Regions from separate parts of the Homo sapiens genome. Here all the other regions are linked to region 3. Evidence: promoter capture Hi-C in human tissues and cell types (Jung and others, 2019). All regions are on one chromosome and are shown on one strand. Each heading gives the region's core, a stretch centred on a gene start or on the middle of the fragment in contact. The rest is flanking DNA. Distances are from core to core; before and after follow the strand shown.

Region 1 (4,344 bases), core at 792-3,291, 1.0 Mb after region 3:
AGAATCTGGAAGGATTAGGAAGAAAGAGGAATGCCACATAGATAGATAGATAGATAGATAGATAGACAGATAGATAGATACCTCCATGCAGTAGACTATCCATTTCCTCATGAGTATTTTAAGTCACATTTGATGATTGAAACAAAATGTATAACATCTTATACTCAAGACAATGATATTTTAAAGTAAAGGAAGTAAAGACACCTGAAAGGAGGTGAGGCTTCCATACTTTACTTGAAGCAGTAAAATGTGGATACCAGTACACTGTGATAAGCCATATTTGTACATTGTAATATCTACTGTAACCACTAAAAAACCTATACAAAAAGCTATGCTCAAAAAGCCATAAATAAGTCAAGATGGAATCCTAAAAACAATGTTCAAGTAACACACAAGAAGGCAAGAAAAGAAGAGCAGAGGAATAAAAACCAATTGAAAGACAGATTGGCAGAGTGGATAAGAAGTTATGATCCGACTGTATGCTGTTTAAATAAACTAACTTCAAATTCATTTGACATAGGTAGGCTGAAAGTAAAAGGATGGACAAAAATACCATGTAAACATTAACTTTTTATGGAGCAGGAGTGGGTTTTAAAATATCTTATAAATTAGACTACAGAGCAAAGAAAATTACTAGAAATAAAGAGGGACATTACATTAGTGATCAAATGAATTAACTTATGAGGAAGACATAATGATCTAATGTGTGTGAACCAAACAACAAAGCCTCAAAATAAATGAAGCAAAAAAAACCTGATAGCACTGAAAGGAGAATTTGACAACTTCACAATTATAATTGGGACTTCAACACTGCCCCCAACCCCCAGCAACTGGTAGAACTTCTAGGTGGAAAATTTGCAGGGATACAGAAGATTTCAGCAACAGCAGCAACCAACAAGATCTCATTGACATATGTAGAACACTCCAACAATAACAGCAGAATACACGTTTCATTAAAAGTGCATGTGAAAATTCACGAATACCCTGAGCCATAAAAAAAACCTCAGGAAATTTAAAATACTTGAAATTATACATAATATGTACAATAATCATGATAAATCAGATTATAAATTAATAACAGAAATACAACAAGAAAATCTCTAAACAAGTGAAAATTGAATGATGCACTTCTCAATAATCCATGGGACATAAAAGGACATCTCAAAAAAAATTAAGAACGTAGGACTGAAAGAAATTTAAAATAAAGCATATCAAAATTTGTGGGGCACACTTCAGGGAGTGTTGAGAGGAAAATCTATTGTACTAAATGCTTACATTAGAAACAAAAAGAGGTCTCAAATCAACAATCTGAGCTTCTACCTCAAGAAACTAGAAAAAGGAGAGCAAAACACTCCCAACACAAACAGAAAGAAGGAAATAATAAAGGTAAGAAATCAATGAAATTTAAAACAGAAACAATAGAGAAAATCAATGAAATAAAAATCTGTTTCTTTAAAAAGTTCAATAACTTGGGTAAACCTCTGCAAAGATGACAATTAATCAAAGACAGAGGACACAAATTGCCAAGACCAGGAATGAAAGAAGGAATTATTACTATAACCCCTCAACACACAATAAAGGATAATAGAGAAATGCTACAAGCAACTTAGTTCAGCAACTTAGATGCAATGAATGGACCAATTATTTATCAAAAACTACAAACTACCCGATCTCACCAAAGATGAAATAGACAACAGCCCTGTAACTATTAAATAAATTTAATTCATTAAAATTTTTTTCCAAAAAGAAATCTCTTGATCCAGATAGTTTCATTGGCAAATTTCACCAAACACTTAAAGAATTAACATCAATTGTACACAATTTTTTTCAGAAAATAGGAAAATAGAGGATACTTCTCAACTCACGATGATCTAATGCCAATCTATTTGCATTAGGTTACTCTAGTGCCAATACCAGACAAGGACATTACAAGAAAATTACAGATCAGTATTCCTCATGAACATAGATCCCTAAATCCTGTATGAAATACCAGCAAATCAAATTCAGCAGTATATACAAAGAATAATTTATCTGAGCAACTTGAGGGCTTTATCCTAGGAATGCAAGCCTGTGTCATGCTTGTCAATCAATGTAATCCATCATATTAGCAGTATAAAGAAGAAAAACCAACTTATATTAACTGACACAGAAAAAGCATTTGGCAAAATTCAACATCTACTTATGATGTTGATAGGATAAAAATAAAAATAAAACTGTTGAAAAAAGGCATAAAAGGTAATTGCCTCAACTTGATAAAAGCCATCTACAAAATAATCTACAGATCACATCATACTTAATGGTAAAAGACTGCAAACAATATCATAACTAGGATATTGACATTGATACAATCCAATCATTTTATTCAAGTTTATTTTTCTTCTACATGTGTATTTAGTTTTATACAATTTTATCACGTGTAGGTTTATGCCTCTACTAGCACAGTTAAGATAATGAATAGTTTCATCACCACGTGGACCCTCAAGTCGAATTGCCCCAGTACCATTTGTTAAAAAGACCATCCTTCTTCCATTGAATTGCTTTTGCACCTTTGTCAAAAATCAGTGGAGCATATTTTTTTGGTTTCTATTTCTTGGTCCTCAGTTCTGTTACATCCATCCATATGTCTATCCCTCTACTAGTATCACTCTGTCAGAATTACTGTAGCTATATAGTAAGCCTTACTATCAAATACAGTGATTCTTCCCACTTTATTTTTCTTTGTCAAGATTGATGTAGCTATCCTAAAATCCGTGCCTTTTCATATAAATTCTAGAATAAGATTTTCTATTATATGTCTAGAAAAAACCGCTGGGATATTGATAGGAATTGCATTAAAACCAGAGATCATTTTGGGGGAGAACTGACATCTTTAATAGTTACATCTTCAAATCCATGAACACAATACGTCTCATCATTTATCTAAGTCTTCTTTGATTGCTTTCCTTAGCATTTTTAATATTCAGCACATAGATCATGTAGGAATTCAACATGTTTTGCAAAGTTTATCTGTAAGTATTTTATTTGGAGCAATTGTAAATGCTTCAAACAGTTTTTTGGTTTTAATTTTGATTTGCACATGTTCCTTGTTACTTACTATATGAAACACAATTGGTTTTTGTGTGTTGATCTTATATCCTGACCCTTCGATGAACTCATTTATAGTAGTTTTTTTGGAGAATTCCTTGGGAGTTTCTACATAGACAGTCATGTCATCTGCTTTGTGTTTAGTTTTCAAGAGTTTGATTTTGATGTATCTGAGAGTAGATTTCTTTGGGTTTACCTTATTGGCATTCACTGAAATTCCTGACTGTGTAGATTTATGTTTTCAACCAAATTGAGGGAGCCATCTCAGCCTTTCCTTCTTTATTCAATGTGTTTTTTTCTATACTGTACCCTTTCTCTTCTCTGTCTGGGACTTTGATGACATCAATCTTAGACCTTTTTAATTGTACCACAGGTCCCTGAGTGTCTGTCAACTGTTTTTTTCAATCTTTTGTTTTCTATCCAGGCACGGTGGCTCAAACCTGTAATCGCAGCATTTTGGGAGGCCAAGGCAGGAGTTTCGCTTGAGCTCAGGAGTTGGAGACAAGCTTTGGCAACATAGTGAGACCTTGTCTTTACAAAAAAATAAAAAAATTAGCTAAGCATGGTGGCACACACCTGTGCTCCCAGCTACTCAGGAGGCTGAGGTGGGAGGATCACTTGAGCACTGGAAGTTTGAGGCTACAGTGAGAAGTGGTGGCAGCCAGTGCACCCCAGCCTGGGCAACAAGTGAAACCCTGTCTCAAAAACAAACAAAGAACAACAACAACAACAATTTTGTTCTGGGTGTTGTTCAGATTGGATGATTTTTATTGTTCTATCTTCAACATTGGCTAGTTCCTCTTTTATCTTCATTATGCTATTAAACCCATTTAGGTAGTTATGTTCTTTTAAACTTTTAATTACGTATTTCTCAGTTCCAAAATTATATTTTTATGTCTTCTATTTATTTCTAAGATTTTTATACTTCATTTCAAGAGTATTTGATCTTACTTCTTGAAGCATTTTTAAAGTCTTTGTGTAATCAACATCTGGGTCATCTAGGCAGTGGTGTCTATTGATTGTCTTATCCTATATGAGTTGAGATTTTCTTGGTTCTTCACATAATGAGTAATTTTAGATTATAATAAGTTATAAGTCCTAAGAGTCTTATTTATGGGTTTTATTTACATTCTAAGAATATTCCTTTTGGGTGTGTTTTAGCAGACAATTGACTAAGTTGAGTTCAGGCTTCCAATTCCAACCAGGCTTCTGTGGATTGTCATTCCCATGTCAGTTGAATTTTCAAAGTCTTTGCAGTGC
Region 2 (4,448 bases), core at 101-2,600, 1.1 Mb after region 3:
TTGAATAATTTGTTACTGAAAGTATATAAATCATTCTCTTTGTGACTTTATGGGCAAAAAGGAAACTTGTTTATACTTTTTTTCTCTTTATGAACTTGTTATATATTATTTTACATTTCTTTTAGTAGCAACCATGGAAATTACAACATGCTTCCTTACTTGTTACCATCATATGTAAATTATTACTTATTTTGAGTTCTCCAGGAATGTTAGCCTTAGAACACTTTATTAACATCCTCTCACATTTTGTTTTACTATTCTCATGTATTTCATTTCACACACACTTTAAAGCCCCCAAACCATTATAATAATATACTAAAATATGTACGAATATATACTAATAATTAGTATATAATGAATCAGTATAAAATATATAATATACACTAATATGTATACTAATAAATATACACTAATATATAACATACTAATATATAATAATATATGTTTTTAGTATATGTGGTTGATACTCATTTATATTTACCTACATATTTGCCTCTTTTGTTGCTCTTTTATTTCTTCCTGCAATTCTGTGTTTCCCTGTGTGATTATTTTTCTTCTGCCTGAAGAACTTCTTTTTGTTTTTCTTTTTTTGTTTTTTTTTGTGAGATGGAGTCTCACTCTGTCGTCCAGGCTGGAGTGCAGTGGTGCGATCTCGGCTCACTGCAACTTCTGCCACCCCCGAGTTCAAAAGATTCTCCTGCCTCAGCCTCCTGAGAAGCTGGGATTACAGGCGCCTGCCACCGCATTCGGCTAATTTTTGTATTTTTAGTAGAGACGGGGTTTCACCATCTTGGCCAGGCTGGTCTTGAACTCCTGAGCCTGTGATCCACCCGCCTTGAACTCCCAAAGTGCTGGGATTACAGGCGTGAGTCACCGTGCCTGGCCGAACTTCTTTTATTTTTCCCATTAGTTCATATTTCCTAGTGATGATTTTTTTTCAGTTTTTGTTGGTGAGGAAACGTATTTATTCTCCTTTCATTCTGAGGAATATTTTCCCTGAGTATAGAGTTCTAATTTGGGGAATTAGAATTTTTTCCTCTACAGATAGCCAATTATCCCAGCACTGTTTACTGAAGACTTCCTTGAATTTCCTTGACATTTTTCAAAAAAATTAATTTCCATATTAGCATGGGTCTATTTCTGGACTCTCTATTCTGTTCCATTGATATATCTATTCCTATGGCATTTATACCACACTGTATTGATTATTATAGGTTTATAGCAAGTCTTGACATTATTATAGGTTTATAGCAAGTCTTGAAAATCTTATGGCATTTATACCACACTGTATTGAAATTATAGGTTTATAGCAAGTCTTGGCTAGTTGTTTTATGCTAAAACAATTTTGAAAAAAGAACACAATTGGAAAAACATAACCAAAACATGTGCATTTCCATATAAATTTTAGAATTTGCTTGGAAATTTCTACAAAAAGTCTTGCTGGAATTTTGATTGGTATTGCATTGATATATCAATCTGGGGAGAACTGGCATCTTAAAAATATTGAGTGTCCCAGTCCACCAGCCTGGTATGTTTCTCTGTTTATTTAAGTATGCTTTAGTTTTTCTTTAAATATTTTGTTGTTTTTACTATGTGGGTCTTGCACATATTTTGTTAAATTAATGCCAAAATATTTTAATTTTCTTAATACTGTCATAAATTGAATTGTTATTTACATTTTTATTTTCTATTCTTTCACTATATATAGAAATACAATTAATTTTTGTGTTTTGAACATGTATCCTGCAACTTTACTAAATTGACTTATATTAATCCTTGTAACTTTTTTCTGGATTTCTTAGAGCTTTGTACATACAAAATCATGTCTGCAAATAGGACAGTTTTACTTCTTCTTTCCAATTTGCCTTTTTCTTTTTCTTGCCTTATTCACTATCTGGGTCTTACAATACAAATTTAAATGCAAATAGTGAGAGTGGATATGCCTGCTTTGCTTTGTTTGTGATTTTAGGTAGAAAACATTAAATCTTCACCATTGAGTTTGATGTTAGCTGTAGATTTTTTTTATAACCTTAATTGGATGAGGAAGACTTCTATTCCTAGTTGTTGAGAGATTTAGTGATGAAAGAGTGTTGATTTTTATCAAATGTTTTTTCTGCATCCATTTAAATAATTATATGGTTCTTTTTCTGTTTTCTATTCATAGAGTAGATTATATTGATTGATTTTCTGATGTTAAGCCAACCTTGCATTCTGAGATAAACCCCACTTGGATATGATAGATAGTATTCTTTTTACATGTTATTGGTTCTTATTTGCTATATTTTGTTAGGAACTTTTTGTTTCTATGCTCATGAGTAATATTGCTCTGCAGTTCTATTATCTTGTGATGTATTTGATTTTCTAATAAAGGTAATGTTAGCCCCATAAAACGATCTGGGAAATGCTCCCTCCTCTTTTATATTTTGAAAACGTTGGTGTAAGATTGGCGTCATTTCTTCCTTAAATAACTGGTGGAATTCCCCAGTGAAGTGATCTAGATCTGGAGTTTTCTATGTGGGAAAGTTTTTATTATTAATTTAAATAGGGCTGCCAAATTTTCTTGAGGCAGTTTTGGTAAATTTGCTTTTTAAGCCGGGCAAGGTGGCTCACGCCTGTAATCCCATCACTTTGGGAGGCCGAGGCAGGCGGATCACGAGGTCAGGAGATCGAGACCATCCTGGCTAACACAGTGAAAACCCGTCTCTACTAAAAATACAAAAAAATTAGCCGGGCGTGGTGGCGGGTGCCTGTAATCCTAGCTACTCGGGAGGCTGAGGCAGGAGAATGGCATGAACCCGGGTGGCGGAGCTTGTGGTGAGCCGAGATCGCACCACTACACTCCAGCCTGAGCGACAAGAGCAAGACTCCGTCTCAAAAAAAAAAAAAAAAAAAAAAAAATTTGCTTTTTAAGTAGTATTTTATCTAGATCGTCAAGCTTATCAGCATGGAATTGTTCACAGTATGCCCTTCTTATTCTTTTCATGTCTGAAGGACGTGTAGAAAAACCCCTTCTTTCATTCCTAATGGGGATTTGTCTCCTCTGTTTTCTTCACTAGTCTGGCTACAGCTGGTCGGTTTTATTGAATTTATTTCAAAAACGTGGCTTTTGGTTTTATTGATTTTTCTCTACTTCTTTTTTTTTTTTTTTTTTTTTGAGATGGAGACTCACTCTGTCGCCCAGGCTGGAGTGCAGTGGCACGATCTCGGCTCACTGCAAGCTACGCCTCCCGGGTTCACGCCATTTATCTTTTCTATTTTATTGATTTTTACCCTTTATCCTTTCCTTCCTTTTGTTTACTTTGAGCATAACTTGGACTTATTTTTATAATTTCTTAAGGTGGAAGCTTAGATCACTGAGCTTTATTTTTAGACTTTGCTTCTTTTCCCATGTAGGCATTAAAGCTACATATTTCCCTATATGTTCTGTTTTACCCTACATCCCACAAATTTTGATATGCTTTCATTATCATAGGTATATGATATATTATCAACATATTTTCTAATATTACTTGTGACTCTTCTTTGATCTAGTGATTATTCAGAAGTATGTTGAAGTCCAGATATTTGAAATTTTCCTGGTTATCTCATTATTATTGAATTCCAGTTTAATCCTTTGTGGACAGAGAACATAGCCTGCGTGATTTTAAACTATTCAAATTTATTGAGTTGTGTTTTGTGGCCCAAAATATGGCCTATCTTGACAAACACACCAGGTGCACTTGAAAATAATGTGTATTCTGCCATTTTTGGTGAAGTGTTCTATAAATATCAAGTCAAGTTGGTTGATAATATTGTTCAAAACTTCTATGTCTTTACTCATTTTCTGGTCTAATTGTTCTAGTAGCTGCTAGGTAGAGATGTTAATATTTGCAGTGATGTTTGTGGAACTATCTCTTCTGCACTTTCATTCTGTCAGTTACTTGCTTCATGTATTTTTGCTTCATATATTGGATGCATACAAATTTCGACTGTTGTGTTGTCCTTGACAATAAGACTTTTATCATTATGGAGTAATGAAATTATATGATAATACATTTCTTATTGTGATATAATTGACAGAACATAAAATTTCATATAATATAAAATTCTCCACTTAAAAATATGCAGTGTACATTTTGGCTTAAGTATATTTTGTCTGATATCAGTCTAGCCAGTCTAGCCTTTTGATGTCTACTGTTTGCATGGTGTATTTTTCCACCCATTTTCTTTCAACATATTTGTCAATATATTTGCTGGTTCTTCTCTAATAAACATATAGTTGGGTCTTGTTTTTTTTTTGGTCCATTTTGACAATCTCTGCCTTTTAATTGCATTGTTTAGTTCATCAACACTTGCTGCAACCATTCACATGCTTGCATTTGGGATCTGTCTTATTTTTTATTTTTGTCTCTTCTGTTGTTTTGCCTTTGTTCCTTCTTTTGTGATTTTTCTTTTTGAATTCTTTGAAT
Region 3 (4,422 bases), core at 819-3,318:
TGATCTAAATTTTAAACTGCTACTAAATTTCTGTTCTCTTAAAGGCACTTAATTTTTCATGAATAACTGGATCTTCAAGATTTCTGGATAGATTATGTTTAAGACTCTCTTTACGTACAGAATGTAATCAATGATAAATTCTAATTATTCCCAGTATTAAAGTAGTTCTTAAAAGTCATCAGAGCTTCACTAATTATTTTTACACATACTCCATCATTTGCTTTGAAAATGAGATATATAGTGTATCTATAAGCAGGGAGGGGCACCAGGCAACAGATCATAAATATAGTTATTACAAAGTTGCTTGCACATATGAATCTGAAGTGTGAAATGCCTATACTTTATAACTCTTACAAAAATAAAAAATTGTTTCACTCATGGTACCCTGGCAACCCAGCAATTTTATATTCACTGATGGAATGAAAATGCAATGTCTGAAAATTAAAATTCAGTAAAAGTTCAATAGTTCACCCACATTTATGATAACCTATGGGGGAAGGGGATGTGCATTTCATATCTAGTCATGTGAAGTGTGCCTTGAATGGCAACTATCGTAAACATTAATTTTTTACTCCCATAACTATTCAAAGCATTGTACGAAGGGCTCAATCAGATCGTGTGAAGTGTACATTTTTCACCCCATAAGCCTGAAATCAGCGAAATGTTATCTTCTCCTTCGCACAAGGCTTCAGGTAGAGACTGGATATCTACCCTCACTCAACCACCCTCAATGGTAGAACTAAAAAGCAACAAATGGATTTTACAAGTTAATGTCTTAAGCTATAGAAGAAAACGAAATGAAACAAAAGGAAAAGGGGAAAAAAAAACCCATTCCTACATTACTGACCGGGGGCTTCTCTTCCAATCGCATCCCAAGTCCTTTGCTGCTCAAAAAACTTAACACCTCCAACCTGGTTAGACGCTTCAAATTCCTCCAGATTTCTAAACTGCGAAAGCGAAACAAACATCTACCTAACAGGCTAAAAAGATGACGAAGTACAAAGTAAGAAAAACTTTTGCAACACAGACACTGGCCACAGTGCATTCCTACTTTCCCAGAAGGGAAGAGGAGGGGAGGCAGCTGAAATAAGAATAAGGATGAGGTAAGTATCGGTGGAAGATGACAGTTTAGGGTGAGAAGCGGCTGCTCTTTCTCACATTCAGGGGGACAGGAAGGCAAAAGGTAGGTGTTAAATTAAAAAAAAAAAAAAGTCTACCCACACCACTCTTCGTTCTTCCTCCAGCACAGCTGGAGGGGGAAGGCTCTTCCCCAGAACGCCGGAGCAGAGAGAAGGCATCGCCACCCTAGGCTAGTGGCGCCGTCCAGCCTGTCACTGGGGCTGGGACTAGAAAAGTTGAAGCAGGAGTAAAGATCTGGGGAAGACGGACACGTCCTTCCAAGGCTGAGGACCCCGGTGACCCGAGCTGAGGGCAGCCAGAGCCCGGGGTGACCAAGCCCTGCCCTACGTGTCCGGCTGTCTCTGAGGAACCGGGTCGCCTGACGCCTGCCCTGGCCCCTCTCCGCCCGGCCCCGCGCGCCTCCTTGCTTACCTGCTGCACCCCGAGGAACTGGTAGAAGTTGAGCTGCACCTCCTCCACTAAGTCAAACAACTCCAGGTCTCCGCTCTCCCAGCCGCGCGCCGGCGCCACGGCGGCCAGCAGCAGCAGCAGCAGCCACAGCAGCGGCGTCCGCGGCGGCGGCGGCGGGAACGGCACCAGCCCGAGCTGGCGGCGTCCAGGAAGCTGCGCCGGCTGGGAGCAAGGAGCCGTCATCGCGCTGGGCTCGGAAAGGTCACCCGCCGCGCAGCTCCGTTGGCCGAGAGCTGGGACGTGGCGGGCGGCGCTGGCTGTGGGGAACAGCGCCTGTCAGTGAAAAGCGCGGGCAGGCGCACCGGAGCGGCCCGCCAGGTGGCTGGCCCCAGACAGAGCGCGGAGGCGGCGGGAGCCGGCTGCCGGACGGGCGGGTGGGTAGGCGGGCGGGGCCGCAGCCAGCGCTACGTTCCGAAGACCCTCGCCCCCAGGCCTACACACAGCTGTAGAGGCAGCGCCCGGCGCCTGGGCTGCACAGTGGGTGAGGCTTCCCTTCGCCTCAGCCTATCCCAGGCCTCGCTTCCGGTGACATCATGTCTCCTAGCAACCGCGGGAAGGGGGCGTGGCCGGAAGCCTGGACGCCTGGCGCCCCAGATCTGGGCCTGGGTGAAATGCCTCTCAATCACTGGCGCGCACGGAGCAGCTGTACCTGCGCCCACATGGGCTGAGAGACAGGGACGGTTATAGCCATCTCGCGTCCATCTGGAACGCCCCACGTGGACTTCCCCTGAAATAGCTACTGTCTTCCTCTCCCCTAGCTATCGAACACTAAAAGCATATTTGAAGCCTGATTAATTGATTATGGCTTCCATGCATTTAATTAGTCCATCAGCAAAGAAGACAGGACAAGTTGAACCAGGTTCTAAAAGGGGCAAATCTAGTAAGTAGAGAGAGGTAGAGCAGAAAAGGAATTGAAACCAAAACAAAAAGTATACTTCTAATTATGAATTAAGATTTACAGGCATAATACCATAAAATGACCTGGTAGAATTAACAGTTAATAATGGTGACTCAATCATAGTTGGAGGAGAAATGTAGTTTATCCACCTTAGCCCACCTCCAGTTGGGGTTCCTTTGAAAACAGACCTCAATTGAGATGTTTCTGTTTTAAAAGACAGGCTAAAAACCTCCTCTCCCATAACAATGTCTCACCTTCTAGTCTTGCATTGCTTCTGTTCAAGCTCTTTTCAAGTTATTTTCTCCACCACAATTCTCTTGTGTGGACTTTATTATTGTGTGCTTAGCACAATGCATAGCACATGAGAGCACTCAATTAGTTGAACTGAATCCTGTGACTACCTCCCTACCACCATTCCCCCTACCACAGATTTTTAGTTTATTTATTTATTTATTTAGAGACGGAGTTTTGCTCTTGTTGCACAGGCTGGAGTGCAATGACACCATCTCGGCTCACTGCAACCTCTGCCTCCCACGTTCAAGCAATTCTCCTGGCTCAGCCTCCCGAGTAGCTAGGATTACAGACTCCTGCCACCATGCCTGGCTAATTTTTTGTATTTTTAGTAGAGACGGGGTTTCACCGTGTAGGCCAGATTGGTCTCAAACTCCTGACCTCACATGATGTGATCTACCCACCTCAGCCTCCCAAACTGCTGGGATTACAGGCATGAGCCACCACCCCCAGCCTAGTTTATTTTTGGTTATATCAGTTTTCTTAAAGTGAACGTCATCTTTACCAAGTCCCTAAATTAGGTTACTGTTTATTCAATGAACAAAACATCGAAATAAGATGAAATTAATGATCTTAAGCACTACTTTTACATATTATAGTAACATTCATCTTTTCTCCTAATTTGATCATTAGATTAAGTGCAATAAAACCTTTGAAACTGGTGCCATATTGCCACAAATCTGGGATTCTTACCCCGATCTTGTAGCAGACAGCCTAGTATTTCCCTTTTGAGTTTTACCTTTATGTTGTCTGAGAACCTCGGGGACTTACTCCATCTAAAGATAGCCCATCCTCTTTCTAAGGCCATGCTGAAACAGAATTGGATTCTATTAATAATACTTCTCATGGACATAAGGTATTACTCAAAAATTCATGCTGCCCAGCTCCAATGACACTTGTCCACCCTGAGATGATCTTCTTGCTTGTCCAGGTTCCTGCAAAGACCACAGTGATATTCATATTTAGACTTCTAGCTTGGCCTCTTTACCTATTCAGTCATTGTCCCAAAAATTACAGTGCAATTGAATAAATCTTTTGCTGAGGTCTGAACTAAGGGAGTGACAGTATCCACTGTTTTCTTCCCTGGTGACATGTACTAATTCTGGGCATAGACTCATCCAGCTTGGCCTGGGCAGAGGGAGTTTACACAGAAAAAGAGAAACCAGTGAGATGTTTAACCATCATGTGAGCTGTGAAATGGATTGGAAATATAGAGGAGCCCCAAACATATAGCCAGTTTTCCCACAGGACATTCGCTGAGTTCTGGGGTGGTGCAGGAGGCTGAGCAGCTGGGCGTGATAGGCAGAGTAAAATTACCCCATATTCTACTGCATAGAAAGCTAATTCTGCTTAGAAGGATCCTGCCTCAAATACACAAGCATTCTCCCCCTTCAAGACATTTACACTATTTTTGAAGTTGTATGAGAAGGAGGCTGAAGATCTACGTTTAAAACCTCTCAAAGGCAGAACTGAATCTCAGAGCAGAGGAAACAGCAGCTGTCCAGGCTCTTGATCAAAAGCCCAGAGGAATCACACATGAAGAAGAGAGAGAAACCACAAGAGAACTATCTTACTGAAACCGCACCCCAATCCCAACCCAGCTCATCCTTGATTAGACAGAGATAATCAGAACATCATCCTAT

The links. Contacts are between HindIII fragments. The study calls those that stand out against the background at their distance.
Region 1: a fragment that was not itself captured here is called in contact with the fragment with the promoter of DNAJC1 in region 3 in 1 of the 25 tissues and cell types used here (dorsolateral prefrontal cortex).
Region 2: a contact is called between a fragment that was not itself captured here and the fragment with the promoter of DNAJC1 in region 3, in 1 of the 25 tissues and cell types used here (aorta).

What each region holds. Positions count from the first base shown.
Region 1 is chr10:23,024,357-23,028,700 of GRCh38, forward strand. All of the region lies in intron 16 of ARMC3 (armadillo repeat containing 3), which reads left to right. The region is part of intron 2 of LOC107984215 (a long non-coding RNA gene); the gene reads right to left. Among named protein-coding and RNA genes, the nearest start is that of MSRB2, 69 kb to the right of the region's middle. The HindIII fragment of the contact is 9,456 bases long and covers 1-4,344 here.
Region 2 is chr10:23,122,494-23,126,941 of GRCh38, forward strand. No RefSeq gene overlaps it. Among named protein-coding and RNA genes, the nearest start is that of MSRB2, 29 kb to the left of the region's middle. The HindIII fragment of the contact is 3,578 bases long and covers 1-3,139 here.
Region 3 is chr10:22,001,662-22,006,083 of GRCh38, forward strand. DNAJC1 (DnaJ heat shock protein family (Hsp40) member C1) reads right to left here and starts at 2,069. Exons shown (of 12, transcript NM_022365.4): 1 at 1,552-2,069. The coding sequence starts at 1,773. RefSeq lists a silencer at 1,703-2,072 and enhancers at 1,733-2,233, 2,113-2,162, 2,193-2,322. The HindIII fragment of the contact is 11,297 bases long and covers 1-4,422 here.